2 separate regions of the Homo sapiens genome follow, and region 1 is linked to region 2. The links are contacts of gene promoters, found by promoter capture Hi-C in blood cells and fetal thymus (Javierre and others, 2016). All regions are on one chromosome and are shown on one strand. The core of a region is centred on a gene start or on the middle of the fragment in contact, and the rest is flanking DNA. Distances in the headings are between cores, read along the strand shown.

Evidence for each region. Contacts are between HindIII fragments. The CHiCAGO score rates a contact against its expected background, and 5 or more counts as called.
Region 1: a fragment that was not itself captured here is called in contact with the fragment with the promoter of SAMD13 in region 2 in 2 of 17 cell types (erythroblasts and megakaryocytes); the score reaches 6.6 in erythroblasts.

What each region holds. Positions count from the first base shown.
Region 1 is chr1:84,158,826-84,163,988 of GRCh38, reverse strand. All of the region lies in intron 1 of PRKACB (protein kinase cAMP-activated catalytic subunit beta), which reads right to left. Among named protein-coding and RNA genes, the nearest start is that of PRKACB, 17 kb to the right of the region's middle. The HindIII fragment of the contact is 256 bases long and covers 3,141-3,396 here.
Region 2 is chr1:84,298,372-84,303,402 of GRCh38, reverse strand. SAMD13 (sterile alpha motif domain containing 13) reads right to left here and starts at 1,695. Exons shown (of 4, transcript NM_001134663.2): 1 at 1,602-1,695; 2 at 116-200. The coding sequence starts at 168. RefSeq lists a silencer at 4,822-5,011. The HindIII fragment of the contact is 6,789 bases long and covers 690-5,031 here.

The DNA.
Region 1 (5,163 bases), core at 2,019-4,518, 140 kb after region 2:
AAACAGGACTAAGATGACAGATTGTATAGCAAGGTGGGCTGACTGGGTAGCATGGTGAACAGATTGTTTTGATTACCAGAGATCCAAAATTTGTACCAAAATGGTACAAAGAATCTATAGAATGGTTCCTTGTTAAGTAGAACTTCAGCACGTGAACTTGCCATTTTAACAGTTGCCATGTGAGGCAGGACTTTTGGTGATGTGGAAGTAAGTCAGGAAATCTTCCTAAGAAACAACTATGAAGCTGAACAGAATTATCAAAAACAATGATTTCATGGCTCTGGAAATCGAGCAGTCATAAACAACAAATTAAGAAACATTTATTTGTGACGAACCACTGAACTCTGCCTAAAAACAGTGGGAGTCAGAGATGTTCTTGCCTGGGGCTGCTCCCACTCCTTTATAGCTCAGTCAGGAGAGTACTTCTACCAGGGTAGGGCTGGTCATGAAAACTAGCAGCTTCACTTCTGGAAGGGGCTGACATGAGAGGGGGCTGATTTGATTTGAAGTGGAGGCCAAAAAACTCATTAGTGATATTGTCAACGAAAAAAGCAAGCTGAAAGAAATTAACAGTCTAAGGCTATGGCCTTGGTAGGGCTAAGCAACACATTGGTGGTATAGCAAGAAACATAGCATGGGGTAAATGAAGATGAGACAGACAGAGGCTACGTAAGTTCACCAGGCCACCCAGTCTGCCCACCTTGCTATGCAATCTGACTAGGAGGTAATGACAAGCACAAAGGACACGAAAGAGGGCCCAGTGGAAAGTTAAAGCTGGTACAGACTTCCGAACTGCCTAAATACTGCATGTGCTCCTCAATTTGCACACAGTTCCATCAGCACTGGCTGGTCCCAGTGTTTGAGTACAACCTCTGATCAATCATTAAATAACAATTAAGCTACAGAGACACAGGGCAATCCCTAGGAAACCAGGTTAAAAAATAAAAATTAGAATAAGAAGAAAAAACTAAGCAGAGAAATCAGTAGTCACATATCATGAGGGATACAGATTCCATAGATTAAGACAAAGGAAGTTTTTAATAAAAAAATAAACAAAACCAACCCTCAGGGAAAAAATAATCAAAACCCAGAGCTACTACCACATGTTATTTTAAAAAACACATTTTTGACAAAAACTTGTGTGATCCACAATGAGGAAAAAAAGCAGTCAATAAAAAATGTCCCTGAATGGGCCCAGGTGTAGAATTTAGCAGACAAAGGCTTTAAAGACTTTAAAATAGCTATTATACATATATGAAAATAATTAAAAGAAAATTGTGTTAAATACCTAAAGGAAAACACGACAGTAATGAACAACATATAGAAACTTTCAATATAGAAAGAAAAACTATTTAAAAATAAAAAGTGCAGATTTGAAAAGTATAATAACCAAAATTTTAAAACTCAGTATAGTAAGCCCAACAGCAGATTTAAAAGAGCAAAAGATCAAATCAGTGAACTGGAAGATAGATCAATGGAAATCATCCAGTCGGAAGAACACAGAAAAAGACAGGAGAAAAGTGGACAGAGCCTGAGAAACTTATGGGATATCAAGGGAACCAACATATATCTCATGGGAATTAGAAAAAAAGGAGAGAGACAAAGGGTGATGAAAAAACATTTGAAGGAATAATGGCTGAAAATGTCCCAATTTGATGGAAAACAGTAACCTATGGATCCAAGAAGCTCAGCCAATGCCAACTAGAATAAAACCCAAAAGATCCACACTGAGACATATCATAGTCAAATTGTTGAAAGGTAAGGAGAAAAGTCATGAAAGCAGCAAGAGAAAAATGATGAATCACGTCCAGGGGAAAAATATGATTAATGACTTCTCATTAGAAATAAGTAGGGCCAGAAGGCAGAGAAATGAAGTGCTAAAAGAAACAAGAAAGCAAACCCATCCACCAACATTTCTCTATCCAGGAAAATTATCCTCCAAAAATAAAGGTGAAATGAAAGATTCCCAGAGAAACAACGGAGGATATTTGTTGTAAGCAGAAATACCTAAGTCCTTAAAGCTGAGAGGAAATAATACTAGACAACAGCTCAAATTGACAGAAAGAAATGAAGAGCACTAAAAATGGTAAATATATAAATAAAAGGCTATATAAATACACATTTTTTCTGTTCTCTCTTAATTTCTTTAAGAGACTTAAAGTTGTATGAGGCAATAATTACAACATTATGTTGCTGGGTTTATAAAATATATAAATATATGTGAAAAAACACAAATTTGGAAAAGAAATGAAGCTATATTGGATCAAAGCAGTTCTATTCCACTAGAATTAAGTCAGTACTATCCTGAAGTAAACTATGATAAGATAAATTATAATCTTGTGTATTATAATCTCTAAAGAAATATTAAGAAAATGCCTTTTAAATTTTATTTTTAAAAATCAAAACCAAATAATTAAAACATACGTAATAGAAAAGAAGGTGGTAGAAAGGGAAAAGAGGAACAACAAAAACTATGAGACAGAAAACAGTAAAATGGAAGCTACAAATCCAACCATATCAATAGTGACATTAACTATGAATGGAAGAAACACAAATCAAAAGGCAGAAATTATCAGATTGGATAAAAATCAAGATCAAACTATATAACATCTATAAGAGACACATTTTAGATTCATAGATATAAATAGGCTAAAGTAAAAACAGGAAAACAAGATTCATCATGCAAACAGTAACCATAAGACAGCTGGAATGCCTATATCAATATTAGACAAAATAGACTTTAAGTCTAGAAAAATTATGAGACAAAAGGGACATTCATAATTATAAAAGGCCAATACATCTGAAAAATGTGACAATTAGAAATGCATATGCATTGAACAGAAGAGCCCCCACAGTACTAAAATAAAAACGGACAGAATTGAAAGGAGAAAAATATTTAATACTAATAGTTGGAAATTTCCATACTTCTCTCTCAATAATTGATGGAAAAACTAGACAGGAAATTGGAAAAGAGACAAACAACTTAAATAACACCATCAAAAAAATCTTGACATTTATAAAATACAGAATTTAACATCAGCAGAATACACATTCTTATCAAGCACACATGGATATTCTACATATTAAGCAAATGCTAGAAAATATAATGTCTCAATTAATTTGAAGGGTTTGCCAAAGCTTTCAAAATATATTCTATAATCACAGCAGAATTAAGTTATAAATAAAAACAGAAAGAAATTTTAGAAATCTCTAAATATTTAGATATTAAATCACAAACAAATTCCAAGGGAAATTAGAAAATATTTTGAGGTAAATGAAAATAAACTACAGCATATCTACATTTATTGGAGGTAGATAAAGCAGGTTTAGAAAAAAAATTCATAGCTTTAACCATTTAGAGTAAAATAGAAAAGTTCCAAATCAGTAACTTAAGCTTTGTATATATTATTATATATTATAGTATTATATTATATATAATATATTCAGTAAAATATATAGAAAAGCAGTAGAGAAAAATGAATTAAACCAAAAGTCTTATGATAAAACTTTCACTAGACTGACCAAATATCAAAACAAAATGAACAAAAAGAAAACAGAAGATATTAATTACAGAAATCAGTAATGAAACTATGATATCACCACTGATGCTAGATAAATTAAAAGGATTATAAAGGAATACTATAAACAACCTTATCCCAATCATATAAGACAACAGATGAAATGGAAAAACTCTTAGGCACAAATTACCAACACTAACTAAAAAAGAAATAGAAAATGTAAATAAACCTGTAACACAAATATTGAATTAGTAATTAAAATTTTTCCCACAAAGAAAAGCTCAAGTCGAGATGGCTTCACTGGTTAATTATATGAAACATTCAAAGATAATACCAACCCTACACAAACTCTTTCAGAATTCAGAAGTGGCAGGAACACTTCCCAACTCATTCTAAGAGGCCTAATACCAAAGTTAGGCAAAGATCAAACGAAAACCACAGACCAATATCCATTGCAAACATTGATGCAAAAACCTTTTATCAAAATGCCAGCAAACTTAATCTAGCAGTATATACAGAGGATCATACACAATGACCATGTGGGATTTATTCCATGAAAGGTAAGGTTGGTTCAACATTGAAAATCAATTAACGAACTATGTTATATTAATAAAGTATAAAACCAAATAATCATCTCAATATATGCAGAAGAAGCACTCCACAAAATCCAACAGCCATGAGAAAACCTCTCAACAACGAGGACTAGAAAGGAACTTCCTCAAACTGATAAAGGACATGTGGGGCAGGGGAAACTCTATACTTATGTCATATTTAATGATGAAAGATGGAACGCTTTCCCCTTAAGATAGGGCATAAGGCATTCACCACTTCTATGCATCTTTGTACTGGGAAATCTAGCCAGTGCAATGAGGCAAGAAAATAGATATTAAAGGATAAAGAAGAAATAAAACTGTCTTTATTTGCAGATGAAATTATTCTATATGTAGAAAATTATAAGGAATCTATAAAGAAACTACTAGAACTAAAAAATGAGTTTAGCAACATCATAGGATGATATAAGATCAATATAAAAATCAATAACATTTGTATATACTAGCAACAAACAATCCAAATGTGAAATTAAGACTTATCCATTCACAATAATATCAACAGAAATAAAACACTTAGAAATCATTTTTACAAGACTGGAACGCTAAAGAAATTAAAGAATATGTAAATAAATGGAGAGACATTTCATGTTCATGGATTCCAAGACTCAAAATTGTTAAAATAACAATTCTCTACAAGTTAATCTATGAACTCAATATATAATCTCTATGAAAATCTAATAAAGCTTTTCTTTAGAAACTGACAAATTGATCCAGAAATTTATATGAAAATGCAAAGGACCCCAAAATAGACAAAACAATTTTGATAAAAGAAGAACAAAGTTGGAGGACTTACACTATGTGATTTCAAAACTTACCTTAAAGTTTTAGTAATCAAGACAGTGTAGTATAGGAATGAGGACAGACATGTAGTTCACTGGGACAGAATTGAGAATTCAGAAGTGAACCCTTTCATTTATGGTCAACTGATTTTTGAGAAAGATGCCAAGATAATTAAATAGAGAAAGGAAATTCTTTTTAACAAGTAGTGCAGTAAAAAATGGATCTACATGTTGAAAAAAGAACTTCAATTCATA
Region 2 (5,031 bases), core at 446-2,945:
AAACCAAGGCGACCCCCAAACTGTGTATTGTAGTAGATAAGCAAGAAGTACGAAAATAGAAACTAAGTCCCTCTGTTGTTTGCAGAAGCAGAACTCAGAAGCCAGCTTCACTTACTTTTTTACACCGACAGAGCCATTTTCCTTGTTTTCCATGTCAACAGATAGCATGGGAAGGCTGCAGGGTTCCTTTACTTCAGCAACTAATCAATAAGGGAGAAAAGCTTGTGTTTAATTCTTAGAAAGTGAGAGAAGAATATATATTCTGAATCGGAAACATAATGGTCCCTTTTACAGCTTCACACCAGTTCACGTATGTTTGTTTAAATCTCCAGTTCCCTCGGCGATTGGAGAGATGTGATTAAACCTAAAGAACTGGAGGAGACGGATTGGGGTGCTTTCATCTGTACTGGCACTCCCTGCCTTGACAATAAGCATTTGCAAATGAAATTGAATCCTCGTTGAAAACAAGTGCTGTGTGAACTGGCACAGCTTCTTCTGGGTGCCTAGCTCTCACTTAAGACACTGCAACTCATAAATGAGTCAAAGTAGAGAAAAACAATCCCCCTTTTCCTGCCCCCCTCCCATTATGGGCTTTGATTTGTTTTTTCTTATTGTGTTTGGTTTTTTTTTTGTCCACTCCCCCTTGCTCCTAGATTTTTTCATTGCAATGCAGAAGGACACTTAAAGCTTTTGTCAGCAAGTATTCCCCTACCTCACATTCTCAACGAAAGCCTCAAAAACCCGTCTGTGAGATGGCCATGCTGTGGTAAAGCAGGAAGCTCACAAAAAATGCCAGATAGCCCTTAGCACAGAAAGGTGGTGCTGGTGTGTGTGTGTGTGTGTGTGTGTGTGTGTGTGTGTATGTGTAAGAAAGAGTAGGTAACTCATTAGATTTATGAAAAATCATCAAAACATTTAAGGAGATATTGTAGCATCCATCACTCTGTCTTTTTGTTTAGTAGGATGAGGGCTGTGGAAAATTAAAAGCCTTCCACAATTAATATGCAATTAGCAAAATGAAAAAGCTACGAACAAAACTGCTTTAAGAAAAAAAAAAAAAAAAAAGGAAGAAACAGTCCCGAAACGTGTTTGCTCTTATTCAGCTGAAGCCATAAATTAAATACATTTCCACTCAAATCACTTTATACTTCGGCACTCCTTCTCTAGGGATTACTCTGACATGGCAAGTGCATCATTTAGTATATTCGCAAGATTTTATCACTGTTAGAGAAGTAGATGATTAACAAATAACACTGTAAGTGTGGGATAATTTTCACTCCTGAAACACACACATACACACAAACTTCCAGCTGCAAACCACTTAGATCATTGATAGAGAAATCCAACATTTAATATATATATATAGATATTAGCATACATTCACACACCGTTAGAGAGTAGACAGGAAGATAGTGCTGCTGCTCCATGCTAACAGAATATGATTTCACTTCAGTTGGAAACTGTTACACATTCACCATTTTCTAAGCATCTCAGAAAACAAAACAAAACACTCACAATGATACTCTGCAACACCACACTACATTGTCTTATTATTATTACTATTATTTTCTTTTCTGTGGAAGAGTAAAAAGAAAACCTACCTATAAGCAACTAAAAAATATCATTTTTTATAGGCTTATCAAGAACAGCCAAAGAAACCCCAATGTTTTCTTTCACAAAGTAGGCTGGCAAAGGAATTCAATAAGGAGGTACAATTTGACACAGTGAAATAAAACCAGGCTGGCTCTCAGCCAACATGACGTTAGGAATCACACACAAGCTGCACCAACTGCCTTCTGGTTCATGGCTGACTTTTTAAAGCTACAGTGTGCCTGTTCACTTTTGCTAACTACCTTCAGCACAATTAGTGCAAGAAATGAGTAAGGAGTCCAAAACCTGCAGAATTCTCCCTGCACCTGTCTTGTACAAAGAAAAACAAGCTGTCTCAATAGCTTCTTATTTTCTCCCTCCCCTTCATTGTTGCTGCATGATAGGTCTTAGCTGTTGTTCTGAGCATGAATGTCATGTTTCAAACTATTTCCTTTTCTCCCCAGAGGGAAAAATAAGAGTGAGAAGCCAGTGCTTATGGGCTATAACCAGAGAACACTCGGAAGCTGCAGTCCCATGTTACTCTTTTTTTCCTAATAGAGATTCATGGACAAAGTTCCCAGGGCTGGCTTTTAAGTAATCTCTTTGTGAGAATAAGGAAAGCACTGCCCAGCAGCAAATCCTTTTACTTCATTATGCAGGAAGTAACATATTTCGGAAAGGATGCAAAATAGATGACCAGATCTCCTGAAAACGCCCACATTCTTTTATTTTGGCATTTATCCTGCCAAATGAAGCCAGCAAAAATTCAAACTGAAACAAACAAAACCTTATTCTACAAAACGAAAACAATTAGTTCTGGGAGGTTTAATTTTAACTGTTTATCCCAGTTGGACAAAAAGCATAATTCAAGAAATTTAACCAACACTTACAATCTATGAGTACCCGGTACTATATTAGTTACATATGAATAGAAAGACATTATGCCCACCCCAAAATTCATAGTCTCTCCCGCCATCATCCTAAATACCAAATCAGAAAACTGGGAGGTGGAGCAGAGAGGCTGGGCAAGATCTTTTGTTTAAGTTACCCTGGTCATTCTCACAGTTCCCTTGCTTGGCTTAAACCACTTTTCCAGGAGAATAATCTCATCCCATTAATGTTCTGCACATACACAGAAAACATACATGGTTGCCTCTTCATTGAAATAAACATCAATCAACATTTGGACACTTTTAGGTCAAGATGGTCAACAAAACCACTCAAGACAGGGCACAGAACACAGGTTCCCCAGAAAGATCCTGGAAAAAGTTATCACTTGCTGTAATATCCTGTAGAATTCAGGTAGAATCTGAGGAAAAAGCTGCCTGCTTCCCTTTTTAAAAATAATCTTTTAGGACATTAGGAGATTACCTTTGATCTAAATTTGGAACCTGAATTTCAAGGTCAAAAAATTTGTTCTTTACTTATTCCAGGAATTATATTAGAAATTTTTGACTTCCTTGAAGATCAGTGCCAAGAAAGATTTCAAATATTTGCCATTGCTCCCTTGAAAAGGCAAACAATAGTAATCTAGGAACCAATTAAATATTTTTGAGCAGTATTTTTTGAGCATGGGTCAGGCATGTGGATCTTTCACCAGTGCTGATCTCAAAATGATGGACTTTTATGTAGATAAAGAGCTCTTTCACTAACAGATTCCTTAACGCTTTTGGACTTGATCTGAAATTCCTGAACTATTCTCCCAGTAAATCCAAATTGGAAGCGAGTTGGACTGGGAGTTCTGTGTCTTGGGGAGCTGGGGTTGTCCTGACAGTGCTGCTCAGAACAAAAGCATGTTCAGCTCTCCACTCTTGACGGGGAAAAGGCAAAGAAACTGTAGTTACACCCAGCTCTTCCTTAGACACAGCCACAGGAGAAAGGATTCTGTGAAGTTTTTCCAAGCATCTCTTCCTGCATATACAAAGGGACATCCCCTCCCATCTGGCCTGCTGTGATCAAAAGTTTGCCTGTTACACAAGAGTAAAGTTTCAGAAAGTGTTGTAGGAAGTTAATCCCGTTTTATAAAAAGTGAGCCACAAAGACACTCTAAATTATGACAACAGGTTTCACTTACCAGCTAGTTTCTAACTTTGGTAGTAAACTGACACTTGTGAATATAAATAAATAAATAAATAAATATATATATATATATATACACTAGTACTCACACACTCCCTCCAACAAACTGTTTGCCATCAATCCTCTGCTGATAAAAAGTTGTGTGTGTAGTATGTAGCATAAAGTATGTGAGTGTGATGTGTGCACTATGTGGTGTACTTTGTGTGTGGGTGTGGTACGTATGTGGGGGTGTGTGTGTATGTGGTGTGTGGGGGTGAGGGGGAGAGGCAACCAAACAAGACCTTCCGATCCAGCACATTATGGGATATGCTGAAATAACTTTAGAGATCCTGAAATCTCCAAATTATATGCTGAAATAACTTTGGTGTCAGTATTCTGGAGCAGAACTGTCGACCCACTTGGGAATGCGCTCAGATAGGGAGAGGGGAGGCGGTTAGGAAGGGCGGGAAGCTGTTGACTTTGATTGGCTTCTTTTCTAGATCAGCATTCGTCCCCCAGGCAGAAAGGACTCGCCTAGGGAGCCAGCGCGGTCCCAAAGGAGCCGCCGGCCCTGCCTCCCGGGATCCGACCCCCGGTGCAGCCAGCCTGAAGTCGCCCGAGGGCAGGGCCGACCTCACCGAGCCGGGAATGGCGTCTCAGGGGCAAGTGAGAACTGGCCTGAGAAGGGGACGGTAGGGGCAGAAGACGCCAGGCTGCCTCTTGGACCAGCAGCGCCGGCCCAGAGCCACACGACTCTCTGTGGCACTGGCGACAAAGCGGGGAAAGTTTCTGGCTAAGACTTTCACGGAGAGGCAGTTCGCTGGCGTTTAGTGTGGGGGCTCCCCGGGGAAGCCGGTCTTTGGAAAGTGGAGGGTGGAGGTGTGGCGTTCTCGGGGTCCCCGCCGAGTCGTGCCACCACCCCGTCCCGCTCCCCGAGCACTGCCAGCAGCCCCAGGCGAGCCGGGGCTCTCCGTGGGGCAGGGCACGCTTCTGCCCCCACTCCACTCCACAGTGAGAGCCCACGTCCGTGGGTGCAACGAGCTGCAGGAGCACCGGACACACGGCCAAGATGTGTTTTTGGGAGGGCAGAGCGGTTTTCATTGCGGCATTCTTCGTTTCCTTTCATCCTGGAGAGAGGAGAGGGCGGGCGCCTTCCCACGCCCTGGGCGCACAGGCAGATCACTTACCTCCCCGCATGGCCGCGCCGGGAGGTTTGCCCCGCGCGGAGCTCGGCGGCCGCCACGCGCAAAGCCCCGGTGCAGCCGGCCGGACGCGCGCGGCACGCCGGGAGTTGTAGTCCAGCGCCGGTCGGCGGGGGTCGGAGGGGCGGGGGCCCCCAGGAATGGGGAAGGCCAGTACTAGAAGGGACAAGATCTGGGCAGG